2 separate regions of the Homo sapiens genome follow, and region 1 is linked to region 2. Evidence: promoter capture Hi-C in human tissues and cell types (Jung and others, 2019). All regions are on one chromosome and are shown on one strand. Each heading gives the region's core, a stretch centred on a gene start or on the middle of the fragment in contact. The rest is flanking DNA. Distances are from core to core; before and after follow the strand shown.

Evidence for each region. Contacts are between HindIII fragments. The study calls those that stand out against the background at their distance.
Region 1: a fragment that was not itself captured here is called in contact with the fragment with the promoter of SPATA21 in region 2 in 1 of the 25 tissues and cell types used here (dorsolateral prefrontal cortex).

Annotation. Positions count from the first base shown.
Region 1 is chr1:16,882,906-16,887,558 of GRCh38, reverse strand. It overlaps the pseudogene LOC107985101. Among named protein-coding and RNA genes, the nearest start is that of TRN-GTT4-1, 4.4 kb to the left of the region's middle. The HindIII fragment of the contact is 3,878 bases long and covers 1,003-4,653 here.
Region 2 is chr1:16,435,224-16,440,041 of GRCh38, reverse strand. SPATA21 (spermatogenesis associated 21) reads left to right here and starts at 2,618. Exons shown (of 13, transcript NM_198546.1): 1 at 2,618-2,914. RefSeq lists a silencer at 1,718-1,888. The HindIII fragment of the contact is 3,104 bases long and covers 1,859-4,818 here.

The DNA of each region.
Region 1 (4,653 bases), core at 1,692-4,191, 450 kb before region 2:
GTGCATTAAAAACAAATTTCTCAGTTGCATCCCTGAAATCCATCAAAAGCCCGGGAGAGACAATCAAGTGCTTCAGGATCAAGAGCTAAACAGGGGAGGACAAAGCGGGGCTCCTTCACTAGGAGTCAAGCCAAAGTCAACTGATTTGGTCTCCAATGGAGAACAGAACTTGGTTCACCAGCGACGTGAGGACGCGGCCCAGAGGAGGCGGACTTTCTCTTCATGGTGCCTTCAGATAGGAAATCTAGGATTTTCTTTCTTTCCCTTTGATCTACTTCCAACTCTCCCTTTCTATTTCTTCAAGAACTTTTTCGGATCCCTAGCTGGGAAGGACCTAAGGGGCCAGTGCCCTTCCCTACTGGTCCCTCCTTGACTGGGTGTCTTCGGAGCCCAAGCTCACCCTGAACATTACTGCCCGCTTCAGACAGTGAGAGGACCAAGGAGGGCGGTGGGTGCGGTGGGAACCACAGAGTCACCGCGCACCTGCATCCGTGAGCTCCTAGCAAATTGAATAAATGCCCCCTGAAGCTTCTCTGCAGGTCAGAGGGAAGGGGAGGGTGGCTGCTGACCCGGCAGGAGAAGCTTCAAGAAGCATCGGGAGGACCTGGCCCTGCCCCTGGGCCTTGAAGACAGGCCTGGCCAGACTGATTTTGATGGGGAGGCCCAAAGAAAAGGTTCGAGGGCGGCCCAAACCCCTACCCCGAGATTAAGGCTCTTAAGTGTCTGACGGTTTTGAGAATCGTCAGTAGAATCTATCCTGCCTGTATCAGGAGACTCCTTTGCCAAAATTCAGAGACCAAGAAAGAGAAAGATTGGGCAGATCAAAATCTGTAATTAACCAAACAGGAAACATAAGTTTTCTGACAAATTGGATGTGTGCTGTGAGAAAAAGACTAGCCTCAAGGAGAACCTGGTTTTTTGGCTTGAGTATAGGGAAGAATGGAGTTGCCACCAACAATGTTGCATTGAAACGGCCGATGCATCAGGCTGTAGATGTGAAGGAATTAAAAATATTTGACCCCAAACTACATTTCTTTGACATATTTTGAGATGTCTGTTCAGAAAGCCAGCTGCAGAAGTAGCCCTGCAAAGTTGTCTTTTGTTGGGGAGATTTGCATCTGTAGGGAATCTGCATTGATACAGCCAAGTCTTTCCTTGCCCAGATCTAGGAAAGATTAACTGAGAGTCTGACACATGTAAAGGTCTGAAAGAAATTTTTAGGGTTTATTCTCTCTGAGAGCTGCTAACTGTAGGGTTTCATTTACATATTAAGACCACCTTTGCTAGCCAAGCCTCCTCTTCTCTCCCTACCATCACTTATCTTGTCCACAATAATTGGATATACCTCTGACTCTGATTGCACCTGGTTTTGGCCATGCTTTGAGCCCTCATTCATTCTGTTACCTCAAGATGGTATATAAGCTTCTGCATCCCATTGTGGGTAGGGGAGGGTAATCACTCTGTGACTCTCCCCATGCACATGTTAGTACATTTTATGCCTTTTTTCCAATTAATCTGCCTTTTGCGACTTGATTTTTGAGTGAAACTTCAGAGGGTTAAGAGGGAGGGTTTCCATTGGCCCCTACAGTTTTGGAGCTGTAAGCAGGATAGGAAAGCTCTGCTCTTCTGGAAGCTGCAGTGAAGAACCCAGGATCTGATCAGCTGTCATAAGGGTAAGAATTTTTTTACCAGCCAGGCTCCTGGCCTCCTTCTCTGTGTGGAATCTCATCAAGTGGACAGTAAAAATCACTGTTTCTTTCTTTTCCCTCTCCAAAATCTTGATTAATTGGAGAAAAGGATTTGTGTGACTAGTCTTGGGTGTAGTGACTCTGGTGTGCTTTTTGGTACTTTGTGGTACCAATTCCTATTGTTTAATCCCTTTGTTCCCAGAAATTGTCTGTTCCTTTGTCTTTGTCTCTATGTGTTATTCTGTCATAAAAGGGGGTACCGGTTGAGGTTCCTTCTCATCTTATTTTATGTCCTTGAGAGCTTGACTTGTGAGCAAGTGGGAGCGCTTTCTCTTGGTTTCCACTATCTGGAAAGAGGCAGTAACTATCAGGTCATACTAGGTGGCCTGTCTGAAAATGGCTGGGAACCCCAGCACACTTTTTGTTCTGACCATGTCAAGCTCTTGGGGTTTGTCTTAAGAAGTCCCATCCCTTTGAGGCTTTTGTCATCTCAATTCTTGTTGCCTGGTTAGTCCTAGGAAAGCTCAATCCCAAGAGGGCCTACCTGGTATTATAGATTCAGAGGTCTGTGACTGGAAGCCCCCATAAATATCTGGGTTACTGGAGGCCAACATCATCCTTACCCATCTGTGGTCTACTCCTTGCATTGAACTTTTTTCTTGCAGGGGAATCTTTGGGATTGCTTCTTCTTTGCCCTTCCCAGGAGGTTAACCTGGAAAATGACATCCTGGGCTTTCCACAAAGGGGCTATTTGGTTGAATTGCTATTGCAATAATTACACCATTGGAAATTCTACTTGCCAATGGCCTGAAGATGGATCCCTTAAATTAGACACCTGAATTAAAAAAAAAAAAGATTTTAGAGATCTCTTATTTTAACAGTTCATAGGAAGATCAAATTAAAACAAACACACATAATAGTGTCATGGCTACCCTTAAAAATTCTCTTGACAATATTATGTGTGTTGTGTAGGGAAAAAAAATTCTCTTAACTAAATTAAAGAGCAAAATTTGACCCGAAACAAAGTTAAAATTCTTCATAAGCTCAAACTGCCTGCTCTGGATCCCTTCCAGGATGCACAATAAAGTCTGCTCTACCTTGCAGTTCAGTGCTTAAAGTTCTGTGTTTTGCTGCCATAGCCTGGGGTCGATTTCCAGTCAGGAAACCAGTTTATTTTGGCTTGATATTTGTGTGACTTTTGACTTTTTGGAATACCCATTTATTGATCCTTTTCCCTTTCACGGGCAGCTTTTGTTTGTTTGTTTGTTTATTAATACAGAGTCTCACCCTATCACCCAGGCTGGAGTGCAGTGGCGAGATCTTGGCTTACTGCAACCTCCGCCTCCCAGGTTCAAGTGATTCTCCCACCTTGGTCTCTCAAGTCGCTGGGATTACAGTCACCCACCACCACGCCTGGCTAATTTTTGTATTTTTAATAGAGACAGGGTTTTGTCATGTTGGCCAGGCTGGTCTTGAGCTCCTGACCTCAAGTGATCTGCCTGCCTCAGCCACCCAAAGTGTTGGGATTATAGATATGAGCCACCCCTCCTGGTTGTTGGCAGCTTTTGATTTCCTGTCCTTCCAGCTTCCAAAGTTTCTGATGAGAAATCTGTTGATAATCTTATTAAAGATTTCTTGCATGTGACCAGTTGCTTTTCTCTTACCAATTTAAAGATTCTCTTTGACTTTTGAAAGTTTGATTATAATGCGTTTTGGTGTAGGTCTCTTTAGGTTTATCTTACTTGGAGTTTGTTAGGCTACTGTGTTTGTATTCATGTCTTTCATCAAATTTGGGAAGTTTTCAGCCATGATTTCTTCAAATATTCTCTATTGCCCTTCTCTCCCTCTTCTTTAGAAATTCCACAATGCAAGGCTGGGAGCAGTAGCTCATGCCTGTAATCCCAGCATTTTGGGAGGCCGAGGCGGGAGGATCACCTGAGGTCAGGAGTTTGAGACCAGCGTGACCAACATGGAGAAATGCCGTCTCTACTAAAAATACAAAATTAGCCAGGCATGGTGGTGCATGCCTGCAATCTCAGCCTCTTGGGAGGCTGAGGTGGGAGAATTGCTTGAAACCAGGAGGCAGAGGTTGCGGTGAGCTGAGATAGCGCCATTGCATTCCAGTCTGGGCAGCAAAAATGAAACTCCTTCCCCCCTCCCACCCCCCAAAACAACAACAACAAAAAAGAACTTCCACAATGTACATGGTGGTCCACTTGATGGTCACTTAGGCTCTGTTCACTTTTCTTCAATCTTTTTTTATTTCTGTTCCTCAAACTGGATGATTTCCATTGCCTTATCTTCAGGTTCACTGATTGTTTCTTCTGCCTGCTCAGCTTTCTTCAAATTTGACTTTGAATCCATCTAGTTAATTTTTTACCAAAGCAGCAACTATTTCGGAAAAGCCTCCTTCATATTGCAGCCATTGGACATGATAATACATGGGATATGCTGCCATTTGTTGAGAATCATGTGAAAATTAAGCTTCTGCCCCATCACACTAAAGTTCCAGCCCTGAGTCCCCACGGTTTTCTCCCTAGGCTAAGATAGAAAGGAAGAACATGAAATGTGCAGAAAGCATTCTCTTAAGCAAACATGTATAACTTGCCTAAATTGTAATTATTTCCCGGAACAGGATGCACCTCTAACCTCTACAGGCAGATCATAGATTCCATTGTCCAGCTGTATAATGAATTCTTCTTCTCAGAGAAGAATACCAGACACTCTCCCTGGCTTGCCTGAATCAAATTTCCAGAAGTAATCGGTGAAAGGCCACAATATGAAGTCTCTCTCAGATGAGTTCCTTCTCTTGTCACATCCCACAGTAGAAACAAAAGAGGACGGGGAGGCCAGAGCTGCTCAAAGCCTTATAACCCACAATTCTCATAGTTATTCTCAACTTAGAGAGGGCTGCTTTCTAGATGCTCCCCCTCCAGGCCTGCAGACTGCCAGGCTCCAGGAATAA
Region 2 (4,818 bases), core at 1,369-3,868:
TGAAACCCCGTCTCTACTAAAAATACAAAAATTAGCCGGGCTTGGTGGCGTGTGTCTGTAGTCCTAGCTAGTTGGGAGACTGAGGCACTAGAATCGCTTGAACCCGGAATGCGGAAGTTGCAGTGAGCTGAAATTGTGCCACTGCACCTCAGCCTGGGTGACAGAGCGGGACTCTGTCTCAAAAAAAAAAAAAAAGAAGAAGAAGAATTCCAGTCTTAACTTCGATTTCTCCCAGAATATTCTGGGAGATACAATGTCTACCCTAGCCAAATTCTCAAAATCCCTCCTTCCCTACCATTCTCTCATTGAGTTGAGTGCCTGCAATGTGCCAGCCCCTATGTGGGGGTGAAGCTGATCCCAAACTTCTGATTCACTGAATACCCCAAACTTTCCCCACCCCTTCTTTCCTTTTCTCTCTCACTCTCCTTCTCCTTTTTACTTTTTTTTTTTTTTTTCTTCAGACAAAGTCTCACTCTGCCGCCCAGGCTGGAGTGCAGTGGTGCAATCTCGGCTCACTGCAACCTCCACCTCCCGGGTTCAAGCGATTCTCCTGCCTCAGCCTCCCGAGTAGCTGGGATTACAGGCACCCACCACCAAGCCTGGCTAGTTTTTGTATTTTTTTGGTAGAGACGGGGGTTTCATCTGGTTGGCCAAGCTGATCTTGAACTCCTGACCTCAAGTGATCCGCCCACTTCGGCCTCCCAAGTGCTGGGATTACAGGCGTGAGCCACCACGACTGGCCATTTCTACTCATTTTTTATAAGCTTTTTATTATAGGATTGATCTAACCACTTACATTTTTATTGTAAAATATACATAACATAAAATTTACCATTTTAAGTGTACAATGCTGTGAAATTAAGTACATTCACAATATTGTGCAACTATATCATGCTTTCCAGAACTTTTCATCATCCCAAACAGAAACTCCACACCCATTAGCAATAACTTCCCATTTCCTTCTGCTCCATCCCTTAGTAACCTCTGTTTTACTTTCTGTCTCTATGAATTTGCCTTTTCTAGATACCTCTTATAAGTGGAATCATACAATATTGGGCTTTTGTGTTTCTTATTTCACTTAGCATCAAGTTTTCAAGGTTCTTTCATGTAGCATGGATCAGAATTTCATTCCTTTTAATGGAGGGATAATATTCCATTGCATGTATATACCATATTTTGTTTATCCATTCATCTGTCAACAATTGGGATGTTATCACCTTTTGGTATTGGGAATCGGGCTACTATGAGCATTGGTGTTCAAACACTTGTTCTAGTCCTGTTTTCCATTTTCTTGAGTGTATACATAGGAGTGAAACTGCTGAGTTATACAATAATGCTATGTTTAGTGGTTTTGTTTTGTTTTGTTTTGTTTGAAACAGCATCTCACTCTGTTGCCCAGGCTGGAAAGCACTGGCATGATCATGGCTCACTGCAGCCTCAACCTCCCAGGCTCAAGTGATCCTCCCAACTCAGCCTCCCAAGTAGCTGGGACTACAGGTGTGAACCACCATGTCCGGCCTTGCTCACCTTTTTGAGGAGCCTCCAAACTGTCTTCCACAGCAGCAGCACCATTTACGTTCACAAGGGTTTCAATTTCTTCACATTTTTGCAAATATTGGTTATTTTTCTTTTCTTTTCTTTTCTTTTTCTTTTCTTTTTTTTTTTTTTTTTAGACAGGGTCTCTCTCTTTCTTTCTCTCTCTGTCACCCCACACTGGAGTGCAATGGTGCGATCATCACTCACTGCAGCCTCAAATTCCCGGGCTCAAGGGATCCTCCTGCCTCAACCTTTTGAGTAGCTGGGCCTACAGGCACACACCACCCTACCCTGCTATTTTTCTTACTTTTTGTAGAGACGGGGGTCTTGCTATGTTGCCCAGGCTGGTCTTGAATTCCTGTCTTCAAGAGATCCTCCTGCCTCAGCCTTCCAAAGTGCTAGGATTATAGGCATGAGCCACCATACCTGGCCTTATTTTCCAATTTTTTTTTTTTTGAGACTAAGTCTCACTCTACCACCCAGGCTGGAAGACAGTGGCATGATCTCAGCTCACTGCAACTTCTGCCTCCCAGGTTCAAGTGATTCTCGTGCCTCAGCCTCCTAAGTAGCTGGGATTACAGGCATGCGCCACCATGCCTGGCTAATTTTTGTATTTTTAGTAGAGACGGGGTTTCACCATGTTGGCCAGGCTGGTCTATAACTCGACCTCAAGTGATCCACCCACCTCGGCCTCCCAAAGTGCTGGGATTACAGGTGTGAGCCACCGCACCCAGCCATTCAGAGCACTTTCAGTTCTGTTCAGTCTAACAAAGACAGGCATCGAGCACATACCCTATGCCAGGTGCTGAGTACTGGGGTCACTGGGATGTGGCCAATCCAGCTCCTACCATCCTGGAGCTCGCAGACTGGAGGAGACAGAGAGAAAAGCAGTCATTGGCAAAGCAGAATGAAAGGTACTGTAATGAAGCAAATTCACAGGGGCCTGTGGGAGCAAAGAGAAGAAACCCCACACAGTCTGGGGAGAGTCAGGGAAGGCTTTCTGGGAGAGAGTACCCTGGCCCAATAATCACTGTGAGGTTGGCAAGGCAACGATTGTTATCTTCATTGTGTAATGGGGGCCACTGAACCAGTGACAAGCTGGGGGAAATGACACTGTCCAGTAGTTGGAGGTCACACAGCCCCTTGCCTTATTCTCAAACCCTAACCACATGGCTGGATATTCCTGAAATGCATTCCTAAACCTCTGCTGCTGAGAATAATTGGACCTGCCATCTATTCCCAGTTTAACTGCCCTGTATACCAAACAAATCCAATTCAAGCCAACAGGCAAAGTATAGGCTCAGACAGAGCCCATCCTATGTGCAAGGCGGTGAGCAGGGGTGGAAAATCTCACTGTGACTCATCCAGCTGATTTCTGGTAGGTGCAGGGCCAAGGTGGGGTGTAAGGTGAACAAGCTTTCCCTGACGGCCTCCAGACATATATATGATATGCCACTTATCTTTATCTGCTGTATTTTCCTGCCATCATAGATATTTCCAAGAGAAATTCTCCCATTTTTCAGATGAGGAAACCACTTATAAAAGGGGCACTCAATACCCAAAGAATTTTGAAAAAGAACAAAGTTGGAGGACTCACACTTCCTGATTTCAAAACTTTTTATTTATTTATTTATTTATTTGTTTTTCCATAGGTTATTGGGGTACAGGTGGTATTTGGCTACATGACTAAGGTTTTTGTTTTTTGGTGTTTTTTTTTTGTTTACATTAGTAATTTTTTTTGAGACGGAGTCTTGCTCTGTTGCCCAGGCTGGCGTGTAGTGGTGCAGTCTCTGCTCACTGCAACCTCCATCTCCCAGGTTCAAGCGATTCTCCTGCCTCAGCCTCCCAAGTACCTAGGATTACAGGCAGGCACCACCATGCCCAGCTAATTTTTGTATTTTTAGTAGAAACAGGATTTCACCATGTTAGCCAGGGTGATCTCAAACTCCTGACCTCGAGTGATCTGCCCCCCTTGGCATCCCAAAGTTCTGGGATTACAGGCGTGAGCCACCTTGCCCTGCATGAGTAGGTTCTTTAGTGGTGATTTGTAAGATTTTGGTCCACCCATCACCTGAGCAGTATACACTGCACCCTATCTGTATTTTTTTTTTTTTTTTTTGAGACAGAGTCTCACCCTGTCATCTAGGCTGGAGTGCAATGGTGCGATCTCGGCTCACTGCAACCCTCCACCTGCCAGGTTCAAGCAATTCTCCTGCCTCAGCCTCCTGACTAGCTGGGATTACAGGCATGTGCCACCATGCCCGGCTAATTCTGTACTTTTAGTAGAGACGGGGTTTCTCCATGTTGGTCAGGCTGGTCTCAAACTCCCAACCTCAGGTGATCTGCCCGCCTCGGCCTCCCAAAGTGCTGGGATTACAGGCACGCACCACCACACTCAGCTAATTTTTTGTATCTTTAGTAGAGATGGGGTTTCACCTTGCTGGCCAGGCTGGTCTCAAACTCCTGACCTCATGATCCGCCCGCCTCAGCCTCCCAGAGTGCTGGGATTACAGGTGTGAGCCACCGCACCAGGCCGATAAATGGGACTTTTACAAAAATTTAAAACTTCTGTGCTTCAAAAGACAAAAAGGTGAAAATGTAATCCACATAATGGGAGAAAATTTTTGCAGATCATATATATGATTCAGGACATGTATCTAGAATTTATAAAGAACATTTACCGTGCAATAATAAAAAGACAACCCAGTATAAATGGACAGAGGCAGGCTGGGTGCTGTGACTCATGCATGTAATCCCAGCATTTTGGGAGGCTGAAATGGGAGGATCACCTGAGCCCAAGAGGTCAAGGCTATAGTGAGCCACGTTCATGCCACTGCAGTCCAGCCTGTGGACAGAGTAAGACCCTGTCTGAAAAAAAAAAAAGGGGGGGGCCGGGCATGGTGGCTCACACCTGTAATCCCAGTACTTTGGAAGGCTGAGGTGGGCAGATCACCTGAGGTCAGGGGTTTGAGACCAGCCTGGTCAAGATGGCAAAACCGCGTCTCTACTAAAAATACAAAAATTAGTCTGGTGTGGTGGCACACACCTGTAATCCCAGCTACTAGGGAGGCTGAAGCAGGAGAATTGCATGGACACGGGAGACGGAGGTTGCAGTGAGCTGGAACTAGGCCACTGCACTCCACCCTGGGTGACAGAGCGAGACTCCATCTCAAAAAAAAAAGGACGAAGGCTCTGAATAAACATTTTTCCAAAGAAGATAGACAAATGGCCAATAAGCACATGAAGATGTCCAACATTATCGGCCATTGGGGAAATGCAAAT